Linked DNA regions of Homo sapiens: regions 2, 3, 4 and 5 are each linked to region 1. Evidence: promoter capture Hi-C in 16 types of primary human blood cells and fetal thymus (Javierre and others, 2016). All regions are on one chromosome and are shown on one strand. Each heading gives the region's core, a stretch centred on a gene start or on the middle of the fragment in contact. The rest is flanking DNA. Distances are from core to core; before and after follow the strand shown. Region 1 holds the start of TBPL1 (TATA-box binding protein like 1). Region 2 has its middle 9.1 kb from the start of VNN2. Region 3 overlaps HBS1L (HBS1 like translational GTPase). Region 4 holds the start of RPS12 (ribosomal protein S12). Region 5 overlaps HBS1L (HBS1 like translational GTPase).

Evidence for each region. Contacts are between HindIII fragments. The CHiCAGO score rates a contact against its expected background, and 5 or more counts as called.
Region 2: a contact is called between a fragment that was not itself captured here and the fragment with the promoter of TBPL1 in region 1, in 1 of 17 cell types (total CD8 T cells). The highest score is 6.4, in total CD8 T cells.
Region 3: a fragment that was not itself captured here is called in contact with the fragment with the promoter of TBPL1 in region 1 in 1 of 17 cell types (total CD8 T cells); the score reaches 5.1 in total CD8 T cells.
Region 4: the fragment with the promoter of RPS12 here is called in contact with the fragment with the promoter of TBPL1 in region 1 in 8 of 17 cell types (activated CD4 T cells, non-activated CD4 T cells, total CD4 T cells and 5 more); the score reaches 13.0 in activated CD4 T cells.
Region 5: a contact is called between a fragment that was not itself captured here and the fragment with the promoter of TBPL1 in region 1, in 1 of 17 cell types (M0 macrophages). The highest score is 5.6, in M0 macrophages.

Annotation. Positions count from the first base shown.
Region 1 is chr6:133,951,803-133,954,502 of GRCh38, forward strand. TBPL1 (TATA-box binding protein like 1) reads left to right here and starts at 1,422. Exons shown (of 7, transcript NM_004865.4): 1 at 1,422-1,623. It overlaps LOC128092253 (umcharacterized LOC128092253), which reads left to right and starts at 1,502. Exons shown (of 2, transcript NM_001414965.1): 1 at 1,502-1,623. The coding sequence starts at 1,502. RefSeq lists a silencer at 420-529. The HindIII fragment of the contact is 10,274 bases long and covers 1-2,700 here.
Region 2 is chr6:132,765,637-132,768,336 of GRCh38, forward strand. No RefSeq gene overlaps it. Among named protein-coding and RNA genes, the nearest start is that of VNN2, 9.1 kb to the left of the region's middle. RefSeq lists an enhancer at 2,570-2,700. The HindIII fragment of the contact is 5,294 bases long and covers 1-2,700 here.
Region 3 is chr6:134,992,059-134,994,758 of GRCh38, forward strand. HBS1L (HBS1 like translational GTPase) reads right to left here. Exons shown (of 18, transcript NM_006620.4): 8 at 1,700-1,817. Among named protein-coding and RNA genes, the nearest start is that of MIR3662, 14 kb to the left of the region's middle. The HindIII fragment of the contact is 267 bases long and covers 1,302-1,568 here.
Region 4 is chr6:132,813,139-132,815,838 of GRCh38, forward strand. It overlaps RPS12 (ribosomal protein S12), which reads left to right and starts at 1,431. Exons shown (of 6, transcript NM_001016.4): 1 at 1,431-1,475; 2 at 1,594-1,644; 3 at 1,834-1,950. The coding sequence starts at 1,631. SNORD101 (small nucleolar RNA, C/D box 101) reads left to right here and starts at 2,169; the gene lies at 2,169-2,241. LOC107986644 (a long non-coding RNA gene) reads right to left here and starts at 1,150. Exons shown (of 3, transcript XR_001744345.3): 1 at 155-1,150. RefSeq lists enhancers at 396-1,142, 1,057-1,336, 1,767-1,896. The HindIII fragment of the contact is 13,401 bases long and covers 1-2,700 here.
Region 5 is chr6:134,972,059-134,974,758 of GRCh38, forward strand. The region is part of intron 15 of HBS1L (HBS1 like translational GTPase); the gene reads right to left. Among named protein-coding and RNA genes, the nearest start is that of MIR3662, 6.0 kb to the right of the region's middle. The HindIII fragment of the contact is 1,675 bases long and covers 458-2,132 here.

The sequences.
Region 1 (2,700 bases), core at 172-2,671:
AGGGGAAAGCAAAAAATCAAGAGGCATCCTTGGAGATCTCGTAAATAATAAAATACCTAAATGGTTGCCTACTGTCAAAACCCCAAGAATTCAGCCCACGTCTTCTCTTTTAAAAAGGCAGTGGCATTTTCATTTTTTTCATCTGATTCCCACCAATCAGAGGCCAGGTACCCATGAACCCGGCTCGGCGTGGTCTTTTAATAATTAAATCAGGGCTGCCATTGACCTCAACTAACGCCAGGGGCTTCTGACTGCAGCCGAGCTCTGGTGGAAAGGCCGATGCCGGCCTGAGAGTGGGAAACGTGGGGCCGGGAGCCGGGGGCTTCCGCGCGGCGTGGCGTGGCGTGGCGTGGCGTGGCGCCCTCAGGGCCGTTACGCGATTTTCGCTCCCGCGGGCAGCGCCTCTCAGGCCACTCCCGAGGGACCCCGAGGACGCACTCGGGCCCCAGGGCGACGGTTCAAACGGGCCATTGTGCGCCCCCGGGGTCCCCCGGCCCCTGCAGGGCTACTTGGGCGCAGAGCCGCGGAGGGTCTCCGTTCCTAGAGGTCCTCCTATCCCGGGCTGCCTGAGTCCTCGCCAGCATCCGCCCTCTCCCACTCCCATCCTTCCTGGATCCGCCTCTCGGTTCCCGAGGGACAGTCCCGACCGCAAACCCACGTAGAGTAAGGAATGTGGGACAGGCGACAGAAGTGGCATACGGTCCTGCGTTATCCCTCCGTCTCGCCACACCTTGTGTCTCCATCTCTCCCCACTTCCTTCCCTCCGTCTGTCATCTGTCATCCCCGGTCGCTCTAAGACCAGGATTCCAATTCGCCTAGTGAGGAATCTCACTAGGGGAATTTATCGCGACATCATAAATTAACGGGTTCATTTTGACTGAAAAAGCGAAGGACTTTTTTCAGGCAGAAAACAAGTCTCGTCTGGACGGTAAGGACTAGCTTTAGCAATTATATAATGGGGGGTGGGGAGGACCTTTTGTATAAATTTAATGAGCTGATGAGAAAGTTCTACGGTTTTGACAAAAAAGTCCACCTAAATATTCGACTGTATGCCAGAAATTACTACACGTTTAGATATCAACTAAAAATATACAAAGGATACACGGTGTTTTCAGAACCCTTTCAAGCGGTTCTTAAACAAAAAAGTCTAGTCCGATGCCCATTAGCGCCGCCCCCATCCCACCTCTTACCTCCCACCGAGCCCAGCGGGTGGGCAGGAGGGGCCTGATTTGGGGACCAGGAAGGAGGAAGGAAGGGTGGGGGCGGGGGACGGGGAAAGTGACGGGAGCAGTGAGAGCCGGAAATGAGTGGCTAGCGAGGCACCCAGGAGCGCCCTGTCCGGCGGCGCTCTAGCCCTCGCGCACTGTCTCTATGCTCCCCAGCGTCTAGTCTATTTATTGTCGCGGGGAAGCTGCGGCCGCCTCGCACCCGGAACAACAAAGCAAGGAAGACGGAGTCCGAGCCTCGGGGGCTCCTAGCAACGGGCCGGGGCGGGAGTTCCATGGAGACTGGGGAGCGCGCCCGTCTCATCCTCATCCTTGTCCTCCAGCTTCTCCTTCGCATCCGACGCAACCGGCAGCAGCGCTGCCGCCGCGTCCTCAGCCACCGCTCCCTCTTCCCACGGTAACCCCCTAGGCGACCCTGGGCACAGGGAGCGCGGGCGGCTGAGCGGCCTGAGCACCGGGTGCGGGGCGTCTGGGCGCGGGGTGGGCATGTGCGGAGCCCGGGCCAGACTTGGGGTGGGATGTGTGGGGGCGGGCGACTGGAGGGCAGCCGCTGAGGTGGGGGAAACCGGTCCGGTGGCCGAGGGAGGGCTCAGTTCTGAAGAGGACCGGGCGATATTTGGGGATCTCTTTAGGGATAACGGGTTGGGGGTGGGGCGTCCGTACCTGGGAGCGTTACCGAGCCTGGTGTAGGATAAGAAAAGAAGGGTTATCTTTCGTTTAAGCCACCACTGGGAAAGACGGGGAAAAGAGATTCCTCATCTGTCTCGGAGCCATCACCCAGGGGAAGAGGGACCGTGCAAAGATGCTAGGGGTCCGTTGCTTCTCAGAAAACTTACAGCGGCTTCTCTAATAGCTCCCAAAAAGCGGCTTCGTCGGTTTCTGATTCTGGCAATGCCGGCAGCCTCGCTTTATTTTATTATTATTTTTGACCAAAATTAGGATTGATGGAGAAGGATCTAGAACTGAAGAAGAGAAAATGAATTGTGGGTAGGGCTAAGCAGGGATGAGAGTCGGGATAAGTGATAAAAATAGCCAATAAAAGCCCTAAAAGTAAATCTAATAGGGCATGAGGGCTTAAAAAGAAAATCTCTCCTGCCGAGATGTGCATCTGCAGGCTCTGTCAATGTGCTCATTGCAATAAGACTCAAACTGCAGTCAATCCACATCTGTGAGCTCTCTGACTGCATCTGTCACCTGCAGTTCCAAAGCGACACTGGCAGTAAGTGCATGAGCTTCTGTATTTAGGGTTTAGAACAGTGCCTTAAAACTGTGACTTAAGAAAAGGGAGCAGGTTTGCGTGTGTGTGTGTAAGCAATGTGGATTCTCTGGGAAAATATAAAAAGAGACATAAGAAGGTTCAGCCATCCTGGCATAATTTCGCAGTCTCTTTGAGAAAATGGCAGTTCCTTCCTATTGAGAAGTGACTGTTAGCACTATCTGGTTGAAAGGATTATTCACAGTTTGGTATGCCCAG
Region 2 (2,700 bases), core at 161-2,660, 1.2 Mb before region 1:
ATAATATACTGCTTTTTGTGTCTGGCATGCTATTGTTGACCTATCATCAACATGAAATACACTCTGAATTGTTTTAGTACTGATGATAAAATTGCACTGAGCTACAAGTCAAAATTTGTTATGACATCATGCTTTCCTAGGTGGTCCCTTGTAATACTCAACTATAAGTAAGCTGGGATTAGAAGTCCAGCTGTAGGTTTTCTGAAAGAAACTACTGCAAATATTTAGGAGTTGCAAGCTGCTCTTAATGAAGATTGGCTATGCAGAATTTAGTTTCCTTTGTTAATACTTTAAATAACATTTTAGCTTCTCCATGTAAATATGTTGTGTCTGAGCCTCCCCTCCTGTGGGTTTGTTTCATAAAACGGGGTCATGTGACAGTGACACCAAAGAAATGGTGAGTATCATGGGACTACCCTGTGGGTAATTTCCTTCTGATATGAATGTGTAGAGATACTTCTCAATTATTAATTGCACTTAATGAAAGTTGATTGGCTATATAAGAATTTATTATCCACATCTTTTCCAGCTAGGTTAGAGAGGGTATCTGTGACGTATTTAAATCTTGATCATTAAACAAATAAGTAAATAGGATATTTCTTATTTATTTATTTATTTATTTATTTATTTATTTTGAGACAGAGTCTTGCTCTGTCACCCAGGCTGGAGTGTAGTGGCGTGATCTCAACTCACTGGAACCTCCGTCTCCCAGGTTCAAGCGATTCTCCTGCCTCAGCCTCCTGAGTAGCTGGCATTACCATGCCCGGCTAATTTTTGTATTTTTTTGTAGAGATGGAGTTTCACCATGTTTGCCAGGCTGGTCCTGAACTCCTGACTTCAGGTGATCCGCCCACCTCGGCCTCCCAAAGTGCTGGGATTATAGGCATGAGCCACCATGGCTGACCAGATATTTCATTAATGCGTGATATTTAATATTTATTGTCAAAATCAAGTTTCTTATCTAAAATAAATGAGTTAGTTGAAAACAAACTAATCATGCAATTATCACGCAACTCAGCAGTTGTATTGCTGGGCATTTATTCCAGAGAAGTGAAGTCTTATGCTTCATATCCCACCCTCTACCCTCGCCCCTGGCAAAAACAAACAAACAAACAAACAAAAAACCTGTTTCTGAAAGTTCATAGCTGCTTTATTTGTAACAAATAAAGTAGTATTCCATTGTGTCTTAAAGCCACCCAATGGAATACTACTCAGCAATTTAAAGAACTGAACTATTGATACATGCAACAATGCCAATAGAACTCAAGGGCATTATGCTGACTGAAAAAAGCCAATCCAAAAAGTTTCATACAATACGATTTCATTTATACGTTTCTTGAAATGACCAGATGATAGAAATGGAGAAGAGATTAGTGGCTGCCAGAAGTGAAGATGGGAGGGAAGTGGGTGTAGCTACAAAAAGACAACGTGAAGAATGTGGCGATGGGAATGTTCTGTATCCTGGTTGTGCTATTGTACTATAGTTCTGCAAGATGTTATCATTGGTGAAAACCAGGGAAAGAATACTCATGATCTTTTTCTATTATTTCTTACAACTGCATGTGAATTAACAATTATCTCAAAATTTTTAAAGTTTAATTTTTAAAAATGATCTGTGATTTGTATTTAACCTTTTTAGTTTTCCTTTGGATTGATTTATGTATCATATTATAATGTATAGGTTGCAATATGATCTTAACATAAAAGATTCCTTTTATTACTAACATATTCCACATTCAGTTATATAGAATATTCTCATTATTAAAAAGGTTCTTTTAAGCTGCTCAGCCTTGTTACATTTAGAAGACTATAAATATATAAAAATACAAACACATACACAGAGATTTCCTTTGATAGTTTTGACCTACCTTTTGGTTTTCTTGTTCAAAGTGTTCTTTCCTCTGTCTTTTCTCATATTTTTTAAACTTTTCTGTGACTTTTTTTTTTTTTTTTTTTTTTGAGACGGAGTCTTGCTCTGTCACCAGGGTGGAGTGCAGTGGCGCAATTTCGGCTCACTGCAACCTCCTTCTCCCGGGTTCAAGCAATTCTCCTGCCTAAGCCTCCCAAGTAGCTGGGACTATAGGCGCACACCACCATGCCCAGCTAACTTTTGTATTTTTAGTAGAGATGGAGTTTCACCAAGATGGTCTTGATCTCTTGGCCTCGTGATCCATCCACCTCAGCCTCCCAAAGTACTGGGGTTACAGGCGTGAGCCACTGCTCCCGGCCCACTTATCTTAATACTTGCAAAATTTCAAAATGAGAAAGGAGTAAATTTGGTTTTGTACATAGCATCTTTAAATACACTGCTATCCAAGGGAAGTATTGAGAGCCGTGTGTTGGGAATGGGGATGAAGGAAGTTCTCTCCCCAGAGAGCCTCGAATCCTTGCGTTGACTTTGAATTCTCAACAATCAACTGTGCTGGTAACAGAATAGGCTGGCCCAGATAGTGGGTAGGAAGGTGCAAGCTGCAGACTCATGCTTTAATAGTGGCCCCAAGTGACAGTGGCAGGGACTGCAGGCACTCAGCCGCATCCAAGACCACCGGGCTGAGGAAGGGCGGCTGTCCTTGCGTGGGTGGACATGAAGGTCAAAAAAGTCCTGGAGGGGGCCAGGATGACTTAAGGCAATCAAGGCCCAGATCTGCATGCCACATGGGTGCAGGGGGCCAGGGTCACACTCTGTCCTGGCACTGCTCC
Region 3 (2,700 bases), core at 185-2,684, 1.0 Mb after region 1:
CTCTGTCTCAAAAAATTAATATTTTAATGAGTAGATCCCAGAAAACGGGTAATTGCTTGAAGTCATGTTTTTGCCATGTAACAGAGTCAAGTTATTTTAACTCTTCATGTTTTCCAGTAATCATCCATTATGAAAGAAATCAATGTCCTATATATGCAGTGCTATTTTCATTGCTTTAATAATTTAAAGTTACGGTGATGCACAGCATAATGACGTTTTGGTCAACCATGGACCGCATACGTGATGGTGGTCCCATAAGATTATAATGGAGCTGAAAAACTCCCATTGCCTGGTGATGTCATAGTCGCCATAATGTCATAGCACCATGCATTACTCATGTATCTGTGATGATACTGGTATAAACAAATCTACTGCGCTGCCAATTGTATAAAAGAATATAGCATATGCAATTATGTATAGTACTTTATAATGATAATTATGATAGTGGTTTATGTACTTACTATTTTTCACTTCTGATGATCCTGATCCTGTGTAGGCCTAGGCTAATGTGCGTATTTGTGTCTTTGTTTTTCACCAAAAAAAGTTTAAAGTAAAAAATACATATTAAAAAAAGCTTATGGAATAAGACTATACAGAAAGAAAATATTTTCGTACAGCTGTACAACGTTTGTGCTTTAAGCTAAGTGTTATTATAAGAGAGTCAGAAAGTTAAAAAAAATTTAAATGTTTATAAAGTAAAAAAAGCTACAGTAAGCTAAGCTTAATTTACTATTAAAGAAAAACATATTTTTAAATAAATGTAGTGTCCCCTGAGTGTACAGTGTTTGTAAAGTATACAGTCGTGTCCTAGGCCTTCACATTCACTCACTGAATCACCCAGAGCAACTTCCAGTCCTGCGAGCTCCATTCATGGTAAGTGCCCTATACAGGTGTACCATTTTTTATCTTTTATGCCCTATTTTTACTGTACCTTTTCTATGATATGCTTAGATCAGTTTAGATACACAAATATTTACCACTGTGCCACAACTGCTTACAGTATTCAATACAGTAATATGTTATACATGTTTGTTGCCTTGGAACTATAGGTTCCATGTAGCCTAGGTGTATAAAAGATGTTACCATCCAGATTTGTGTAAGTAAACTCAAATATGTTCACAAATGATGAAACTGCCTAACAACTCACTTCTCAGAATATTTCCTTATCATTAAGGGATGTATGAATGCAAATTATATTTGATTTTTTGCAGTATTCTTATTAAGAATCATGTAATTTACAAATTGCAATGCTTTTTTAATATTATAAAGAAAGTAAATAAACCACTGGGCGAAAATACCCAAGCTTCATTATTTCTGCATAAACAAGCTCTTTAAAAAGATATAGAACTTGAATATATTGAAAGACATAAGGCAGATTTTGAAATACTCAGGCCAACTTATCAATAAAGGAAATATGAAGCTATACTCATCAAGTCCTTTACCATTACTTTTACGATAAAGAAACTCATAGCTTTTATACATTTTGTTTCTTTGTAAGAAATTTTAAAAGGTTTTACAAAGTACAGGTAGAAAGATCATGAAAAATACAATATTGCTCTTTTTGTTCAAGCTTTATAAAGGTTAAAATTTTTAATTTTAAAATATTTTAAAAGTCAAAATCCTAGAATTGTAACCTCAGCATCAGAAAATTTTATGTAAAGTACAATCAGCACACTATAGTGAAGAAAACAGCAGTTACCTGGGCTGCTCCTGTAATCATATTTGGAATGAAGTCCTTATGGCCTGGAGCATCCATTAATGTAATAACTTTGGTTGTGGTTTCAAACTTTGTCATACCAACATCCATGGTTACTCCCCTTAAACAAAACATAACATGGTTAGAATGTACGATATAAATAGTGCTATAGAGTAAATTAATAATAGTCTACATGACCATCTACATTCTTAGGTAAAAATGGAAATTGTTTTTATAGACTATTATTTTTGAATAATTAAATTATCAATCGGGGCTGGAATTTCTGCTATAATAGAAGTGCATCCATATGGTTTTAACATAAAAGGGAGGACAAAGTAAGAGCTCAATAAAAATGATAGTTATGCCCTATTATCTTATTTGTTTTGTAAGAAATAGTGTAAATTGTGAAGAAGGATACATGGGGACAACTCTAAATGGGGGGAAAATACTGCATATGAGAAAAGACAAATGCAAAATTACCACGACCGAGAGGTAATTTTCTTCACGTTCTACACTTATGCTTCACTAATTATAGAAATGAGCTTATAAAACTTAATTTGCAAGGCTGGTTAATATGCTACATATTTAGAAAACATAAGATATCAAAGCAGATGCCTAATTTTTAAAAAACAGAGATAGATGAACAGCAGATTGCTTTGTATCCTATTTAATTCTTCCTGGAGACCAACATAGTGCCTTTTTTCAGCCACAAAAATGTAGATTCAGATTAGTGAAATGCTTGGGACTAGAAGCTTTTCAAATTACAGACTTTTTTGGACTTGGAATATTTGCATATACAAAATGAGGTATCTTGGGGATGGGACCCACATCTAAACACAAAATTCCTTTGTTTCATATACACATTATACACATAGCCTGAAGGGAATCTTATGCAACATTTTCAGTCATTTTGTGTGACCTGTCACATGAGATCAGATGTAGAATGTTTCACTTGTGATGTCATGTCAGCACTCAAAAAGTTTCAGATTTTGGAGCATTTCAAA
Region 4 (2,700 bases), core at 181-2,680, 1.1 Mb before region 1:
AAAATGAAACTGAAACCAGCGGAAAATCTAAAACTGAACTCTATCAGTAAACTGAACTCTATCAGTTTATTAACATTACAGCAGGTCTCTGTTCTGGTGAACTCCCTGGTGCTCTTACTGCGTTACCCATTTTTGTTTTTTTCGCTGCACTCACCAGTCTAACAGTATCTGCCCACTGGATTCACAGCGCTGGCACGTGCCAAGCGCCTAATAATTGCTCACTGGTTTGGCGGCTGACTACCCAGGAGAGGAAATTAAACACAAAGGCAGTATTGATCATATTCAGTAGTGTTTCGTGCGTTTGGTTTGGAAGTGGGGATTGGGGAATGGCCAATCACTTCCAAATTTAAAATATTGCTTCCTGGAAGAAAATGGACTCCTCAAAGACTGGATATTTCATGTCTGTAGTCCCAGGACCTGGCCCTGCGTCAGGCACATTGTAGGTGTTGAAAATGCACCTGAGGAATTCTGAGTTGCGCGGAACTGTGTATTCCGAGCACAACGCGTCGTTAAAAACCAAACAAAGCAGAACAAACTTCGTTCAGAAGCGACTCCCGCTATACTTAGAAACTAGAATTGACCCCTGGCTGCAGGGTTCCGCTTTACCAACACACCGCAGGGAAAGGGCTTAGAAATAGTGAAAGCGGCCGGGGGCGGCGGGTCACGCCTCTAATCCCAGCATTTTGGGAGGCCGAGGCGGGTGGATCCCCTGAGGTCAGGAGTTCGAGACCAGCCTGGCCAACATGGTGAAATCCCGTCTTTACTAAAAATACAAAAAATTAGCCAGGGTGGTGGCAGGCGCCTGCAATCCCGGCTACTCGGGAGGCTGAGGCAGGAGAATCGCTTGAAACCGGGAGCCGGAGGTCGCAGTAAGCTGAGATCGCGCCATTGCACTCCAGCCTGGAAGAGTGAAAGCATGTAGGCTCTCGTTTCATGAAGACAAAGATGAGGATCACACCCACAACGACACAAACATGGTCTCTCAGGGTGACTTAGAAGCGAAGGAACAAAGTGCGCTGCCTGGGGAGGCTGGGTCTTGTAGAAGCAACAGGAAAGTAGAACGTGGTGTGGAAAGGGTTAAAACTGGCGCTCGGCGGGATACAGGGCTCTAGGTGCCTTAAAGAACACGCGGACACACTTGTTTGGCTTCTGTCGCGCTCCGTAGAATGAGTTCCCTGGGCCTCGGTGGGCCACGCCTCCGCAAAGAAGGACAACGCGAAGCTGCCCGCGTAGTGCCTGTTGCACTCGCCAAGGACCGGCCTGGCAGAGATAGAAAACTCGCAGTACGTTTGCCTCAGAACCGCCTCAATCCGGAAACAGAAACTCCCCAGGCCCGGCACTGCGGGAGCCACCTCTTTCGAGGGTGGGAGTGCACATGCGCACAGGGGACCTGAAAAACCCTTAAATACCGGCATGCGTGCGGATGAGGCCTCTTTCCCTGCCGCCGCCGAGTCGCGCGGAGGCGGAGGCTTGGGGTAAGTTGAGCGAGGCGGCAGGGGGGTGTATTGGTTATAATTTGTGGCTCGTTGCGTTCTTGCTGGGATTCGTGACGAGTATCTGGTTCTTTAACAAGTCAATGCTTTTGTTTTTTAGTGCGTTCAAGATTCAACTTCACCCGTAACCCACCGCCATGGCCGAGGAAGGGTGAGCCCAGGGGCCGGGGTTGGAGTTGGGGTCGGGGTGCGGCTGAGGCGTGGGGCTAGAGCTGGCGGAACAGGACTGGGTCAAACGGGTCGCCGTAAGCGCGTCTGTTGTACACTTAGCTTTTGCTGAGTGCAAGGCCTTATGTGGTGTGAGGATTTTAACTGATGGTTCTGATGTGTCGCGTTTAAGCATTGCTGCTGGAGGTGTAATGGACGTTAATACTGCTTTACAAGAGGTTCTGAAGACTGCCCTCATCCACGATGGCCTAGCACGTGGAATTCGCGAAGCTGCCAAAGCCTTAGACAAGTACGTGTATCAGTCTCAATACTGTGGGTTCTTGCAACCGGAACAAAACTGCCACCCAAGGGAAGAAGGCATGGAGTTCATGGTGTTAGCGCAAAAGTTCTGAATGGCATCCGTCCTACCGGAAACCTAGGAAAAGGTATCAGAACTCAGATCTATAAAGCCCACTTAAAATGTGTGGGTTGCTGTTTGGAATGGGGATAAGCACTCAAAACTACAGTGTTTGAATGATGACTTTAATTGTCGGATACCCCTTCACTCCTTTTATGAGTGAAACATAAGAGTCTGACAAACCTGTAGGTTGTGGAGCTAGTCAGTCTTATACTTATCTGGCAGATAGATGAGATGGAGAGCCACATTACATCTGGTAGTTTGCAAAACAAGCATTAATTTAATGGAATTTCAAACTCAGGTTTCAGAAGCATTTGGTCCTAGATGAATTTAGTAGTATAATAGCTGTGATTTATTTGAATTTGGGATATTTGTTAATGTATTTGAATGGATCGAGTTAATGTGTTTTTTAGGGTGGTGGCATTGACAAATCAACCTACTCTTGAGCTGAATTTAAATGCAGTTTTAAGGTTTTACAGGACAAGTTCGTTTTGGTGTAATCTAGCCAGTTCAATCCGATGGAAACGGCATTATTGTTTAATGTATTTAGTAGGTCCTAGTATGAGTCTTCTGTATTTCTATTTCGGCATTATTGCATGGCATTTCATAACTGTTCCATTAATGCCACAGTCTTTTTTTTTT
Region 5 (2,700 bases), core at 45-2,544, 1.0 Mb after region 1:
CCTTCTGTTATGTAACTTGTATGCATTATTTACCTTTCTAAAGTTCTAACATTTCTGAATTCTAAAACCATTGCTCTAAAGGGTTTCAGGTAAAGGCTGGGATTCTATTCTTCGTGTAGGGTTATGAGAATCAAATTATCTAGTGTTCTATAAACTCAAATGGGCTACGTAGTCTGTTAGGTGGCCAAGTAAATCATTTTCCTTAATTTTCTAGATAACCTGTATTTTTAAAATGTTAACAAATACATAGTCAATTGGTTTTCAACCAGGGTACCAGCACCATTCAATAGGGAAGGAATAGTCTTTTCAACTCATCGTGCTGGGAAAACTGGATATCCATATGCAAAACAATGAAGCTCTCTACCTTACATATGTACAAAACTTAACTGAAAATGGATCAAAGACCTAAATATAAAAGCAAAAACAACAAAACTCTTAGAAGAGAACATAGCACAAAAGCTTTATGACATTGGATTTGGCCATGATTTCTTGGATAATACACCAAAAACATAGGCAACAAAGGAAAAAATAAACTGTACTTCAACCAAATTAAAAACTTTTGTGCAACAAAGGACACTACCAAGAAAATGAAAAGGCAGCCTAGAGAATAGGAGAAAATATCTGCAAATCATGTATGTAATAAGGGATGATATTAAGAACTTCTATTAATAACAACACAACCTAATTCAAAATGTGCAAAGGATTTAAAAAGACATTTCTCAAAGATATACAAATGGCCAATAAGCACATGAAAAGATGTTCAGCATCTAATTAGAGAAATCCAAACCAAAACCACCATGAGACACCACTTAACAACTATTAGTTTGCCTATTATATTTTTAAAATCCCTCTCCCACACCCCACTACTAGAAAACTTGTTATTTAATGTGTTGACAAGAAAGTAGAGAAAATAGAACCCTTATGCACTGCTGGTGGGAATGTAAAATGGTAGAGCCCCTGTGGAAAATGGTTTAGCAGTTCCTCAAAAAGTTAAACACAGAATTACCATATGATCCAGCAATTCCACTCCTAGGCATATGCCCAAAAGAATGGAAAGCAGGAATCTCAATAGATACTTGTACACCCGTTTTCACAGCAGCATTATTTGTAATAGCCAAAAGATGGAAATAACCCAAATGTGCATCAACAGATAAATGGATTTTTAAAAGGTGGTATATACATGCAATGGAATGTTATTCAGGCTTAAAAGGGGATGAAATTCTGATGCATATTACAACATGGACAAACCATGAAAACAATTTGCTAAGTGAAATAAGCCAGACACAAAAGGACAAATATTGTATGATTCCACTTACATAAGGAACCTAGAGCAGGCAAATTCACAGAGAAAGTAAGTAGAAGAATGGTTATCAGGGGATACCAAGAGGGAATAATGGGAAGATACTGTGTCATGGGTACAGATTTTCAGTTTGGGATGTTGAAGAAGTTCTGCAGATGAATAGTAGTGATGACTGGCCAGGCGCAGTGGCTCAATGCCTATAATCCCAGCACTTTGGGAGGCCAAGGCGGGTGGATCACCTGAGGTCAGGAGTTCAAGACCAGCCTGGCCAACATGGTGAAACCCCGTCTCCACTAAAAATAAAACAAATTAGCCAGGCGTGGTAGTGCACACCTGTAGTCCCAGCTACTCGAGAGGCTGAGGCAGTTCCGGGAGGCTGAGGCAGGAGAACTGCTTGAGCCCAGGAGGCAGAGGTTTCAGTGAGCCAAGATTGTGCCACTGCACTCTAGCCTGGATGCCAAAGCGAGACTCCATCTCAAGAAAAAAAAAAAAATGAACAGTAGTGATGACTGCACAACATTGTGGAGGTACTTAATGCCACTGATTGTACACTTAAAAATGGTAAGTTCTATGTCACATATATATATATATAAAATAATAAAAATCAAATATAAATTCACTTAAAGTCTAATCCATTCTTCTATTATTTCCTCTTAAAAAATATAGAGTAAGAGAGAAGATTCAAATAAGCTCAATTCAAAAGGAAAATGGAGACATTATAAACGACACCACAGATATACAAAAGATCATTTGAGACTACTATAAACACCTCCGTGCACACACTAGAAAATCTAGAGGAAACGGATAAATCCTGGAAACATACAACCCTCCAAGCTTGAATCAGGAAGAAATAAGAAATCCTAAACAGACACATATCAAGCAGTGAGAATAAATCAGTAATAAAAAAAAAATTTTCAACAACAACAAAAAAGCTCAGGGCCAGATGGATCCATAGCCAAATTCTACCAGACATTCAAAGAAATAATACCAATCCTACTGAAACTATTAAAAGACTGAGAAAGAGAGAATCTTCTCTAACTCATTCCATAAAGCCAGTATCATCACCCTGATAACAAAACCAGGAAAGGACATAACAAAAAAAGAAAGCTACAGACCAACACCCCTGATAAACACAGATGCAAAAATCCCTAACAAAATACTAGCAAACCAAGTCCAACAGCATATCCAAAAGACATTTTATCATGATCAAGGAGGTTTCCTCCCAAGGATGCAGGAATGGTTCAGCATATGCAAGTCAATAAATGTGATTCACCACTGAAACAATTAAAAGCAAAAAAAAAACAGATGATCATCTCAATAGATGCGGAAAAAGCACTAGATAAAATCCAGGATCCCTTAATGATAAAATGTTCAATAAACTAGGCAAAGAGGAAACATAC